Linked DNA regions of Homo sapiens: regions 1 and 3 are each linked to region 2. The links are contacts of gene promoters, found by promoter capture Hi-C in human tissues and cell types (Jung and others, 2019). All regions are on one chromosome and are shown on one strand. Each heading gives the region's core, a stretch centred on a gene start or on the middle of the fragment in contact. The rest is flanking DNA. Distances are from core to core; before and after follow the strand shown.

Region 1 (4,932 bases), core at 2,159-4,658, 68 kb before region 2:
CTCTTGACCTCGTGATCCGCCCACCTCGGCCTCCCAAAGTGCTGCGATTACAGGCATGAGCCACCACGCCCGGCCTCAGCTTTGATCTTCTAAACTCATCCTTCATCTTTTCCAAAAATTATTCCATGTCTTTTCAAAATGCTTCTCCAGTTTTGTTTTTTTTTTTCTTGAAACAGGGTCTCACTCTATCACCCAGTTTTGCTTGCAATGGTGTAACCAATCATGGCTCACTGCAGCCTGGACCTTCCAGGCTCAAGCAATCCTCCTGCCTCTGCCACCTAACTAGCTGCAGCTACAGGCATGCACCACCATGGCTGGCTAATTTCTTCATTTTTGTCATGAAAACAAACTCTTATTATGTTACTCAGGTTGCACTGGAACTCCTGCGCTCACATAATTCTCCCATCTCAGCCTCCCAAAGTGCTAAAAATATAGGTGTGAGCCACTGTGTTCTTCTGCAAATTTTTTTTTTTTTTTAATACAGAGGCTGGCTCTGTTGCCCAGGCTGGAGTGCAGTGGCACGATCTCAGCTCACTGCAACCTCTGCCTCCCCAGTTCAAGTAATTCTCCTGTCTCAGCCTCCTGAGTAGCTGGGATTGCAGGTGCACACCACCACGTCTGGCTAATGTTTGTATTTTTAGTAGAGACAGGGTTTCACCATGTTGGTCAGGCTGCTCTGGAACTCCTGACCCCATGATCCACCCACCTTGGCCTCCCAAAGTGCAAGGATTACAGGCATGAGCCACTGCACGTGGCCTCTTCTGCAATTTCTTAAGAGGATTATTTCCAGTGATAAACAGTAGTATATGAACACAAACCTAAAAGGAATCTGACTTATTCTGTAGAAGTGTCACTCTCCAGGATTTCAAGGGTCTAGGGCAGGGCAGCTACTTTAGTAGTATGATCTATGGAGGTGCATGGGCTTTGGCGTCAGATAAAGTTGATCCTGAGTCTTATTCCAGTCACTTAGTACTCGTGGGTCTTTGGACATGTTTGTTGATGTGGAGAAGCTCTATATACCACATATGCAAAAAAGGTAGACTGATACTGATTGCAAAATGGCAGCAATTTTTCTGCCCTCTTGTATCTATGCCCATTGTCAGGTGCTTTTACAGCTGTTTCCATCAAGATCCAGAATCTGTCTTCTAAACCCTAGATCTGGCTGGCCTTATTTGCTCAGGGCAGTAGAAACTTGTGAACATGACAGTGGGCTAGTTTGGGGCCCAGGCTCAAATGGTCTTGAATACTTCTGTTTTTTGTTCAGAATGCTGCAATCTCCATGAATAAAGCCCATGTTAGCAAGCTTAAAAATAAGATACCATGAGGAGGAGAAGCAAGGTGCCCCTGTTGAGCCCCAGAAGCAGAAGATCACCCCCAGAAGTACAGCTGGCTAGTCAACAAGCAGCTGATGATACCAGTCTGAAAGAGCTCAGCTGATACCAGAAGAACGGCCCCACTCACCCAGCCTAAATGGCTGATCATCTTAATTATAAACTAGTAAGTTTTGGATGATTTGTTATGCTGCAATAGCTAACTAATACATGCACCAGTGCAGATAGGATGCCAGGATTCAGTGACAGGTTGATTACTTGTTGCCTTCTAACAGTGGGCACCCTCTAGGTACTGATTTCTTCCCCTAATTTAAAGTTGGATGTCTTGAAAGAGAATGTTGGGTAATGCAGAAATACTGGGAGACATGTATGCATGTGATTGGTGTTTATATTCGCACAGTCCCCACACCACAGGAGAAAACAGATAACCACAGCCTCGCAATTAGGGTCAAGGCCAAATAGCAAAATAAGTTTGCCTTTAATCTATTTTCTCTGTATCTAAACACTGGAGTCCAAGAATGTGGGCAGAACTGAAGACACAGAGTTTTTTTCTCCTAAGCTCCATCATCCTATGTTCACAGCCTAATCTCTAAAAGAAAGGTGGGCAACAGGTGGTAAGCAGTGGTTTACCTGTGGTTATTTTATTTCTGCTGCCCTCAGCTCTTTCTATGGCCACTATCTGTTCCAACCTCAGAACTGAAGATAGATGTTAGTAGGGAGAGGCCCTTCCTTCCCCTCTGGCCCTTCACACCATTGACATCAGAGCTGCCATGTGTGGCTCCTGGGTGCCTGGAATGTGCTTGGTCTGAACCGCGATATGCTAGAAAGGTAAAACACAGAGTTATTTTCAAAAATTTAGTTGCAAATATTTATATACTTCATTAATAATTACATATTCCTCACACATTAAAATGATATTTTGTATATATTAGGTTAATTACATTGTTACAATCAATTCAACCTGTTCCTTGTTATTGTTGTTGTTGTTGTTGCTGTTGTTGCAGTCTGTCACTAGGCTGGAGTGCAGTGGCGCAATCTCGGCTCACTGCAACCTCTGCCTCCCGGGTTCAAGCGATTCTCCTGCCTCAGCCTCCCCAGTAGCTGGGATTACAGGCATGCGCCACCACGCCTGGCTAATTTTTATATTTTTTTCAGTAGAGACAGGGTTTAGCCATATTGCCAGGAGGGTCTCAATCACTTGATCTCGTGATCCACCAGCCTCGGCCTCCCAAAGTGCTGGGATTACAGGCGTGAGCCACTGCGCGTGGCCTCTTGTTTCTTTATATTTTTCACCCCCCAAAACGGAGTCTCGCTCTGTCCGCCCAGGCTGGAGTGCAGTGGCGCGATCTCTGCTCACTGCAACCTCCTCCGCCTCCCGGGTTCAAGCAATTCTCCTGCCTCAGCCTCCTGCGTAGCTGGGATTACAGATGTCCACCACCACGCCCGGCTAATTTTTGTATTTTTAGTAGAGACGTGGTTTCACCATGTTAGCCAGGCTGGTCTCAAACTCCTGACCTCTTGATCTGCCCGCCTTGTACTCCTAAAGTCCTAGGATTACAGGCGTGAGCCACCATGCCTGGCCCCTTGTTTCTTTTTAATTTTCTAGTTTGGCTACCAGAAAATTCAAAATTCACGTGGCTCACATTTTATTTCAGAGGATTACCTCCTTTTTAAAATCTCAGGCTGCCTGCTCAAAGGACCGTAAGCCAGGAAAGTAAAAAAACCCTGAAATTTTAAAACATTTGTTATTATATCCTTTTCATTTATGTATAGCCATATGATATAGTATTTACAAATGCATATGACCTTATACGCAAGGTTGAATGCAAATACCCTTTGGGGTGGGCCTATCTCAGCTCAAGGAGGAAGCCCTGCCTGAAAAGGCTGCAGCCTAGGCGGTCACTCTTTCTTCATTCAGCCCAGCATCTAATTACATCTTCTGTCAGTCAGGGCCTGAGAGGGTGGGGTTTTAAACGTTATCCAATCAGCGACGCTGGGCTGGGAACTGTCCAATCAGGCACGCAGCTTGAGCGGAGAGGACGGCTTCCGGGATGTGGCGGGATTTGTCCGCTTCTTTGTCTTTGGCTGCCGCTGGAACTCCGGGTCTCGTCTTCACTGCTCTGTGTCCTCTGCTCCTAGAGGCCCAGCCTCTGGTCCTGTGACCTGCAGGTATTGGGAATCCACAGCTAAGACGCCGGGACACCCTGGAAGCCTAGAAATGGTGAGAGTGCGGGGTCCAACATCCCGAGAGAGGGGAAGGGCTGGTTGGAACCGGTGGGAAGTGGCTGTGGCGAGACTCAGGCCTCCCCGCAGTCAGCTCTACAATCTGCGCCCCGAGTTCTCCTTGCCCAGCTCGGCCTCAGTCGCCTTCAGCCATAAGATGGCGGTTGCGCCGACAGCCCGGCCCCCGGGCGTCCTGTCTCTTCCCTGCATAGTGACTGTGCCCTTGCCTGGAGCCCTCTCTGGGGAATCTCTGCACCCGCAGCGCCGCTTCTCTACCGGATTGTGCAGGGACCGTGGGAGGGTCGTCAGGGGAGAATCCTGACTTGGGGTGCGGGTTCATGAATGGGAAGAGGTTTGTTCCGTGGGGTTCCCAGTTCCTATTATCTCCTATTAAAAGTTAATGGGAGTCACTGCAAAAATATTAAAAGAATTTAATCAAAGAGTGGTTCTAGGCTGGGCGCGGTGGCTCACGCCTGTAATCCCAGCACTTTGGAAGGCCGAGGTGGGCGGATCAGAGGTCAGGAGATCAAGACCATCCTGGCTAACACGGTGAAACCCCGTCTCTACTAAAAATACAAAAAATGAGCCGGGCGTGGTGGCGGGCGCCTGTAGTCCCAGCTACTCAGGAGGCTGAGGCAGGAGAATGGCGTGAACCCAGGAGGCAGAGCTTGCAGTGAGCCGAGATCGTGCCACTGCACTCCAGCCTGGGCGACAGAGCGAGACTCTTGTCTCAAAAAAAAAATTAACTTATTAAATAATTTAATCAAAAAGTGGTTCTAGAATTGTAGAGCACCAAGCTGTGGTTTTTAGTTTGTGGTCTATGGGAGAGGCTTGAAAGAAAGTCTTTTGTAAAATGCATGATGAAGAAAACCAAATTTAGTAATTGGTTAGGTACAGTTACGTGGTTTTTTAATTTGTACATTAAAGGTGAAAATTTCCTGGTTATGTAATCGGAGCTCAATTGGCAGTTTATAGTAGGTGAAGCCTCAATTTTGTTTCTCTGAATTTAGTAATTAAAAATAATGCGCCTGAGTTAGATTTTTTAAATTGAAGTAGGAACCCAGGGACTAGAGAAACCTCAGTCTAATTGCCTGCCACTTAATTATTTTCACACTCCACAGGGAACTGATTTTCTGCTGCATTTTTCACCTGGGTCCCAATCAGGGTCTTAAGTCTAACCCCCATCCCTCATTACTCCAACCTCATTCTTGCTTGCAGTAAGATACTAAATTTCCAATTTCTTCTGGGGTTCCCAAATGCCAGCTTTTCCTCCCTAATTCACATTATCACGTATTTGTGTTTTTTTGTTTGTTTTGTTTTGTTTTTGAGATGGAGTCTCGCTCTGTCTCCCAGGCTGGAGTGCAATGGCGCGATCTCG
Region 2 (4,715 bases), core at 1,146-3,645:
TTCAACCCTTAGTATACATAAAATAATTCATACTGGAGAAAAACCCTACAAATGTGAAGAATGTGGCAAAGCTTTTAAACGATCTTCAACCCTTACTATACATAAAATGATTCACACTGGAGAAAAACCCTACAAATGTGAAGAATGTGGCAAAGCTTTTAATCGGTCCTCACACCTTACTACACATAAGAGAATTCATACTGGACACAAACCCTACAAATGTAAAGAATGTGGCAAATCCTTTAGTGTATTCTCAACCCTTACTAAACACAAGATAATTCATACTGATAAGAAACCCTACAAATGTGAAGAATGTGGCAAAGCTTTTAACCGATCTTCAATCCTTAGTATACATAAGAAAATTCATACTGGAGAAAAACCCTACAAATGTGAAGAATGTGGCAAAGCTTTTAAGCGGTCCTCACACCTCGCTGGGCACAAGCAAATTCATAGTGTACAAAAACCCTACAAATGTGAAGAATGTGGCAAAGCCTTTAGTATATTCTCAACCCTTACTAAACATAAGATAATTCATACTGAAGAGAAACCCTACAAATGTGAAAAATGTGGCAAAACTTTCTACCGATTCTCAAACCTTAATACGCATAAGATAATTCATACTGGAGAGAAACCTTGCAAATGTGAAGAATGTGGCAAAGCTTTTAACCATTCCTCAAACCTTATTAAACATAAGCTAATTCATACTGGAGACAAACCCTACAAATGTGAAGCATGTGGCAAAGCTTTTAGGCGGTCTTCACATCTTAGTAGACATAAGATAATTCATATTGGAATTCATACTGAAGAGACTGTACAAAAGTGAAGAATGTGGCAAAGGCCTTTACTGCTCCTATTCCCTTACTAAAGAATGTGGCAAAGCTTTTCACCAGTACTTTACCCTTAATACACATAAGATAATTAATGCTGGAGAGAAACCCTACAAATGTGAAGAATGTGGCAAAGATTTCTATTGATTCTCATACCTTACTAAATATAAGATAATTCATATTGGAGAGAAATTCTACAGATGTGAAGAATGTGGCAAAGGCTTTAATTAGTTCTCATCCCTTACTAAACATAAGAGAATTCATACCATAGAGAAATCCTACAAATATGAAGAATGTGACAAAGCTTTTAACCACTTCTCAACCCTGCCTACACGTAAGATAATTCATACTGGAAGGAAACCCTACAAATATGAGGAATGTCTCAAAGCTTTTTACTGATTCTTATACCTTACTAAACATAAAATAATTCATAAAGGAGATAAATTATACAAATGTGAAGAATGTGGCAAAGCTTTTAACAAATCCTCATCCATTAGTAAACATAAGATAATTCATACTGGAGAGAAAACCTACAAATGTGAGGAATGTGGCAAAGCCTTTAGCCTGTCCCTCCAATTTACTGCACATAAGATAATTTATACTGGAGAGAAGCCCTACAAATGTGAAAAATGTGGCAAACCTTTTAACCAATCCTCAACCCTTACTACACATTAGATAATTCATGCTGGAGAGAAACCCTACAAATGTGAAAAATGTGGCAAAGCTTTTAACCAATTTTCAAACCTTACTAAACATAAGATAACTCATACTGGAGAAAAATCTTACAAATGTGAAGAATGTGGCAAAGCCTTTATCCAGTCCTCAACTCCTAGTAAACATAATTAATGATGGAGAGAAACCATACAACTGTGAAGAATGTGGCAAAGCTTTTAACCAGTCCTCAAACTTTATTGAACAAAATAATTCATACAGGAGAGAAACCCTACAAATGTGAAGAATGTGACAAAGCCTTTAACCAGTCCTCAATTTTTACTAAACATAAGAAAATTCATACTGGAGAGAAACCCTATGATTGTGAAAAATATGGCAAAGGCTTTAACTAGTCCTCAGTTCTTAACACACATACGATAATTCTTACTGCAGAGAAACTCTACAAACCAGTAAGATGTGACAGTGCTTCTGACAACATCTCAAACTTTTCTAATCATAAAAGAAATCATATTGGTGAGAAATCCTAGAAATGTGGAGAATGTAACAAAGTATTTAAATGGTTGTCACACTTGATTATAGGTAATATTCATATTGGAAAAATTTCCTACAAGTAAGAACAATGTGGCAAAGTTTTTAACTAATACACCTTATTGCACAGAAAATCATTTATATTTGAGAAAAATTGTAGAAATATAGACTGTGAAAAAGACGTCAATATCTGCTCACATCTTACTAAACACCAGAGAGTTCATGCTTAATAAAAGCATGATAAGTGCAATTACTGCCAAAAGATCTTTCAGAAAATATTATCCTTTAAAGTGAAGGAGAGTATTTATATTAAAGATGAACATTACAACCATAAAGAGGGTTGAAGTACCTTTACTTGTATCAGATCTTATTGTCCACATTTTGTACTACAGAAAAACTCTGAAGAGGTCACTCAAACTTTGTTCAACATCAGGGAATTTATATTGGAGAGCTGTCTTGCAAATGTAATAAATTTGGGAAAACAAATTTTCAAAAACTACAGCTTAGAAAACACCAGAGTTTATACGAAAATATATTTTCAAAGGTGTAGTAAAAATAAAAAAAATTTTAATCCAAATTTGTCTATGTAAATACCAGAATTTATAGTAGAAATATATGAGGAAGCGACACTTCGAATATTCTACTAAATGAGAGTTCTGAGTATAGAAAATAAAACTAAAGTTGGTAGAAAAATTATTTGTATATAATGTTAAGAGGAGTAAAAGATTTTTTGTAGAATAATAACTATATTCGGATTATACTTTGTTTCTTGAAAAAATTACAGATTTTTTGAAAAGCAAATGATGTAACTCAACTCATTATTTTCTGCTGTTTCTTCATTCTTATTCACTTGTGAAAGCTTGTGATCATTTGTTGCTGCATCAGAGGTATGAGAGATTCTTCTTCATTAGATGGGCATTATTTATGATCTTTTCTATGGATGAGTAAGAATATTAAAATGTAAGATGCATGGTGAAAATCTAAGTGGAGAGGTTCTTTGTGGTTAACTTATACTATTGAGTGATGCACAAGGTAGGTGTTAAGAGTAATATTCTTTTGCATTATGAGAAAACTAGTATATTATTCATATATTTTACTAATTGTACTTTTTTTATTATACTTTAAGTTTTAGGGTACATGTGCACAATGTGCAGGTTAGTTACATATGTATACATGTGCCATGCTGGTGCGCTGCACCCACTAACTCGTCATCTAGCATTAGGTATATCTCCCAATGCTATCCGTCCCCCCTCCCCCCAATTGTACTTTTATATAATAAAATGCAGTACATTTTAAAAAATTTTAAATTCTGTGTGAAGGTAACTGTTTCAACATTTTTAACATGGTAAATATTATTGTGCATTCAATAAAGTGTTGTTATGCCACAAAGATTAACATTTTCCACCTTACCAAATGGCATACGTAAAAGATGGTAACAATATACTATTTGGTAACATCATGGACTAACATCTGTAGTCATCTCTTTTGCCAGTGGCTTCGAACTGCAAATAAGTTAAAGAATATTGTTCTTATAGGTTAAATTTTTATTTTTATTTTAATCATTTAAATTTATTTTTCTTAATTTTTGTGGGTACATGAGTTTATATACTTATGCCATATATGGCATATTTTGATACACAAATACAATATGTAATAATCACATTGGGATACGTGTGGTATCCATCACCTCTAGCACTTATTTCTTTGTATTAAAAACAACCCAATTCTACACTTTTACTTATTTTAACATGTACAATTATGGCCAGGTGTGGTGGCTCATGCCTGTATCCCACCACTTTGGGAGGCCGAGGCAGGTGGATCACCAGGTCAGGAGTTCAAGACCAGCCTGGCCAACATAGTGAAACCCTGTCTCCGCTAAAAATACAAACAATTAGCTGGGTGTGGTGGCAGGCACCTGTAATCCAAGCTACTTAAGAGGCTGAGGCAGGAGAATCAAGGGAACCTGAAAGGTGGAGGTTGCAGTGAGCCAAGATCATGCCAGTGTACTCCAGCCCAGGTGACAGTGTGAGGCTCTGTCTCAGGAAAAAATATATATATACAATTGTTATTGCCTACTGGTTTATTTTTATGGTTATAATAAAAATTATTTTAAAATGTGCAGTTATGGTTGGGTGCAGTGGCTCACGCCTGTAATCCCAGAACTTTTGGGAGGCCCAGGCGAATGAATCACCTGAGCTTAGGAGTTCGAGATGGCCAGGAACCTGGGAGGTAGAGGTTGCAATGATCTGAGATCGTGCCACTGCACTCCAGCCCAGGCGACATTACAAGACTTCGTCTCACGAAAAAAAAAAAAAAAATGAACAGTTAAACTGTAATTGACTAATGGGTTATTTTTATGGTTATAAAAGAAATCATATACAAGTATAAATAAAATACATACACTTCTGAGTCCTGAGTAGATATCTTAAAATTTTATACATATATATATATTTGAACATGTGTCCTGTCTGCATGGAAACACATACCGACTTAATTTGGGTTAAATATACATTACTCTAAAAGATAAACTTTAGGCGTAAGGAAATTATAAAGTAAGTGAGTTTGTGTGAGTAGAAGTTTGTACTTATTTTCAGAAGAAATATTGGGGAAAAATTATTTTAACAAGGTGACTAGTATAAAACTAAAAGCCTCAAAAATGCTGAAAGCAAATGTATACTCTGCTTTGTA
Region 3 (4,428 bases), core at 1,881-4,380, 97 kb before region 2:
ACATTTCACAATAGCAAAATCATGGAACCAACCCAAATCCTCATCAATCAATGAATGGATAAAGAAACTGTGGTATATATATACAATGGAATACTACACAGCCATAAAAAATGAATTAACAGCATTTGCAGTAACCTGGATGAGACTAGAGACTATTATTCTAAGCAAAGTATCTCAGGAGTTGAAAACCAAACATGGTATGTTCTGTTATGTGGGAGCTAAGCTATAAGGATGCAAAGGCATAAGAATGATACAATGGACTTTGGGGATTTGAGGGGAAGAGTGGAAGGGGGACGAGGGATAAAAGACTACAAATTTGGTGCAGTGTATAATGCTCTGGTGATGGGTGCACCAAAATCTCATAAAATAGGCTGGGCGCGGTGGCTCATGCCTATAATCCCAACACTTTGGGAGGCCATGGCGGGTGGATCACTTGAGATCAGGAATTTGAGACCAGCCTGGCCAACATGGAGAAACCCCGTTCTCTACAAAAAATACAAAAATTAGCTGGGCATGGTGGCACGCCCACCTGTAATTCTAGCTACCCGGGAGGCTGAGGCAGAAGAATTGCTTGAACCCGGGAGGCAGAGGTTGCAGTGAGCCAAGATTGTGCCATTGCACTCCAGCCTGGGCAACAAGAGCAAGAGTCCATATTAAATATAAATATAAATACATATATATTTGATTATATATATATTCACAAAAAATACATCTGAGAAAATTCCTAAACTTACTCTAAGAAAGGAAAACTTAAATGAGAATTTCTCACAAATAAAATACATGATTAATATTAATTTTTTCTGAAATCCACCTCTTTTATGCCCTCTGTTAATATTTTCTTACCTTCCAAGTCCTATTAATAAAATGCAATTTACAGTTAAATAATGGAAGTCAACATAAGTGAACAAATCTTTTCAAGGTGACAAACCCAGGGAGTGGTAGTGCTAATTAGAAAACAGATGTGTCTAGACCGGGCGCGGTGGCTCACGCCTGTATTCCCAGCACTTTGGGAGGCCGAGGCGGGCGGATCACCTGAGGTCTGGAGTTTGAGACCAGCCTGACCAACATGGAGAAACCCCATCTCTACTAAAAATACAAAAACATTAGCTGGGTGTGGTGGCACATGCCTGTAATCCCAGCTACTCGGGTGGCTGAGGCAGGAGAATCGCTTGAACCTGGGAGGCGGAGGTTGCGGTGACCCGAGATCGTGCCATTGCACTCCAGCCTGGGCAACAAGAGTGAAACTCCACCTCAAAAAAAAAAAAAAAGAAAAGAAAGAAAACAGATGTGTCTGACTGATATTCACCCACCCCATTCTGCTCACCTTAAGTGCTCAATAACCACCCTCTCAGGAGACATTACACTATGCCCCAGGTGCATTTTACTTTGTAAGTTCTTGCACCATCTCACTTGGGTCAGGTTTTTCTTTGTCTTTTGGGATACTTTTTTTTTTCCACAAAATTTAGAGAATTCAGGGGGCAGAAATTATTTCTGTGTTTTCCCCTCAATACCAGCATCTGATTGGCTGACCAGCACTGTGTCTCCAAGAAATGGAAGCTGGGTTGGGTGAAGACAATCTTAATGTCTCAAGGGGTTAGCTTTTCAAAGGAAGAGTATGCCAGGAGATGCCTCTCAGCCCCAGGGCATCCACCTGCTCCCTTGAGAAGCTACACTCCATACCTCAGGTTGTCCTCAGGGAGAAAAATGACCCAGGAGCTGATATTCACTAGACACTCTAGCAGAAAAAGTCATGATGTGTATCTTGGTTTACTCCAGACAGTACTGAAACCCAGGACCAGGAAAAAACTGAAGGGTGGCTGAAGACACATCACTCCGTAAAGTTTCCAAAGAAAAACCTTCACCTGAAAACAAACATTCTGATAAGATTTCTGTGCCTGAGGAAGATAAAAAAAAAAAAGCCATAGAAATTTCATAAAATACAGTGTCAGGGAATTATTTTTTGCTTTCTTCTCATGAGAAATATTTTCAACCAGAAAACAATTTTAAGTGCCATCCAATGCTTTGTCAAAAAATGATTAACTAAAATACAGTATCAAAAATGTACACTAAAGGAAAAACAGTTGAGAATGTGAATTAGGAAAGGCAAGCTGGCATTTGGAAATGTCAGAAGGAACTAGAAATTTAGTATTTTAGTTTATTTGCAGTTTAAATCTAACTGCAGGCCAGAGTTAGGCTGGAGGAATGGGGCTGGGAGGTACACTTGAGACCCCGCTTGGAACGCATGTGAAAAATGCAGGGGAAAATCAGTCCCCTGTGGAGTGTGAGAATAATTAAGTGGCAGGCAATTACACTGAGGAGGCTCTAGTCCCCGGCTTTCTACTTAACAGCAACAGCTACGTAAATGTACCTAACCGATTATTAAATATAGTTTTCTTCATCATGCACCTTATAAAAAGTCTTTCCTTCAAGCTCCTCCCATGAACCACAAACTACAAAACATACTTTTGTGCTCTACAATTATTGAATCACTCTTTGATTAAATTCTTTAATATTTTTTGCGATGACTGCCACAGATTTTTAATAGGAGAAAATAGGAACCGGGAACCCCACAGACCAAAGCTCTTCCCATTCATGAACCCGACCCCAAGTCAGGATTCTCCCCTGACCACCCTCCCATGGTCCCTGCACAATCTGGGAGAGGCGCGGCGCTGCCGGTGCAGAGCCGCCCAGAGAGGGCTGCAGGCCAGGGCACAGTCACTGCGCAGGGAAGAGACAGGACGCCCGGGGGCCCGGCTGTCGGCGCAGCCGCCATCTTATGGCTGAAGGGGACTGAGGCCGAGCTAGGCAAGGAGAACTCGGAGCGCAGATTGTGGAGATGACTGCGGGGAGTCCTGAGTCCCGCCACAGCCACTTCCCACAGGTTTCAACCAGCCCTTCCCCTCTCTCGGGATGTCGGACGGCACTCTCACCATTTCTAGGCTTCCAGAGGGTCCTGGAGTCTTAGCTGTGGATCTCCCAATACCTGCAGGTCACAGAGCCACAGAGTCTGGGCCTCTAGGAGCAGAGGACAAACAGCAGTGAAGACGAGACCGGAGCTCCGGCTGCAGCAAGAGACAAAGGCCGCGCCAAACCCGGAAGCCGCCCTGTCCGGTCCAGCTGCGTGTCTGAGTGAACTGTCCCCAGCTCAGAGTCCCTGATTGGATAATGTTAAAACCCGCCCCTTCAGGCCCTGAGGGACGGAAGATGTGATCAGATGCTGGGCTGAATGAAGTGTGACAGCCTATGCTGCAGCCTTTTCAGGCAAGGCTTCCTCCCTGAGCTGAGCCAGGCCCACCCGAGAGGGTGTTTGCCTTTAATCTTGTGTATAAGGTCATATGCCCTTATAAATAATATGCTATATGGCTATTCACAAATGAAAAGAATATAATAACCCAATTGTTCTAAAAAAAATTTTTTTTTTGAGATTGAGTTTCACTCTTGTTGCCCAGGCTGGAGTGCAATGGCGCGATCTTGGCTCATCGCAACCTCCACCTCGCGGGTTCAAGCGATTCTCCTGCCTCAGCCTCCCGCGTAGCTGAGATTACAGGCATGCGCCACCATGCCCGGCTAATTTTTTTGTATTTTTAGTAGAGACGGGGTTTCTCCATGTTGGTCAGGCTGGTCTCAAACTCCAGACCTCAGGTGATCCTCCCGCCTCGGCCTCCCAAAATGCTGGGATTACAGGCATGAGCCACTGCGCCCGGCCCAACTGTTCTAAAATTTTATATTTTGTGACCTTCCTGACTTCTGGTCCTTTGAGCAGGCAGCCTGAGATTTTAAAAAGGAGGCAATTCTCTGAAATAAAATGTGAGCCACAAGTTGGGCGCTGTACCTCACGCCTGTAATCCCAGTACTTCGGGAGGCCGAAGAGGGTGGATCATCTGAGGTTCAGAGTTCGAGATCAGTCTGGCCAACATGGTGAAACCCCGTCTCTAAAACAATACAAAAAAATTAGCTGGGCATGGTGGCAGGCGCCTGTAATCCCAGCTACTTGGGAGGCTGGGGCAGGAGAATCGCTTGATCCTGGGCGGTGGAGGTTGCAGTGAGACGAGATCACGCCACTGCACTCCAGTATGGACAACAAGAGTGAAACTCTGTCTCAAAAAAAATAAATAAATAAAATAAAATCATAAAATGTGAGCCACATGTAAATTTTAAATTTTCTAGTAGCCAAACTTTATTTTATATTTTTATTTTTTTAGACGGAGTCTCACATTGTTGCCTGGGCTGGAGTGCAATGGCGCGATTTCTGCTCACTGCAACCTCTGCCTCCCGGGTTCAAGCGATTCTCCTGCCTCAGCCTCCCAAGTAGCTGAGATAAAAGGCGCTGGCCACCATGCCCGGCTAATTTGTAGCCAAACTTTAAAAAGAGTTTAGCTCTATTTTTAAAAAGAAACAAAGAACAGGTGAAATTGATTGTAACAATTT

The links. Contacts are between HindIII fragments. The study calls those that stand out against the background at their distance.
Region 1: a contact is called between the fragment with the promoter of ZNF738 here and a fragment that was not itself captured in region 2, in 4 of the 25 tissues and cell types used here (adrenal gland, dorsolateral prefrontal cortex, mesenchymal stem cells and 1 more).
Region 3: the fragment with the promoter of ZNF708 here is called in contact with a fragment that was not itself captured in region 2 in 5 of the 25 tissues and cell types used here (bladder, hippocampus, liver and 2 more).

What each region holds. Positions count from the first base shown.
Region 1 is chr19:21,355,592-21,360,523 of GRCh38, forward strand. It overlaps ZNF738 (zinc finger protein 738), which reads left to right and starts at 3,409. Exons shown (of 5, transcript NM_001355237.2): 1 at 3,409-3,552. The coding sequence starts at 3,550. RefSeq lists enhancers at 2,122-2,679, 3,471-3,770. The HindIII fragment of the contact is 7,981 bases long and covers 1-4,932 here.
Region 2 is chr19:21,424,162-21,428,876 of GRCh38, forward strand. It overlaps ZNF493 (zinc finger protein 493), which reads left to right. Exons shown (of 4, transcript NM_001076678.3): 4 at 1-3,416. The coding sequence ends at 823. Among named protein-coding and RNA genes, the nearest start is that of ZNF493, 29 kb to the left of the region's middle. The HindIII fragment of the contact is 5,489 bases long and covers 1-4,715 here.
Region 3 is chr19:21,326,280-21,330,707 of GRCh38, forward strand. It overlaps ZNF708 (zinc finger protein 708), which reads right to left and starts at 3,131. Exons shown (of 4, transcript NM_021269.3): 1 at 2,931-3,131. The coding sequence starts at 2,933. RefSeq lists enhancers at 1,074-1,595, 2,684-2,883, 2,924-3,103, 2,988-3,976 and a silencer at 3,223-3,444. The HindIII fragment of the contact is 12,621 bases long and covers 1-4,428 here.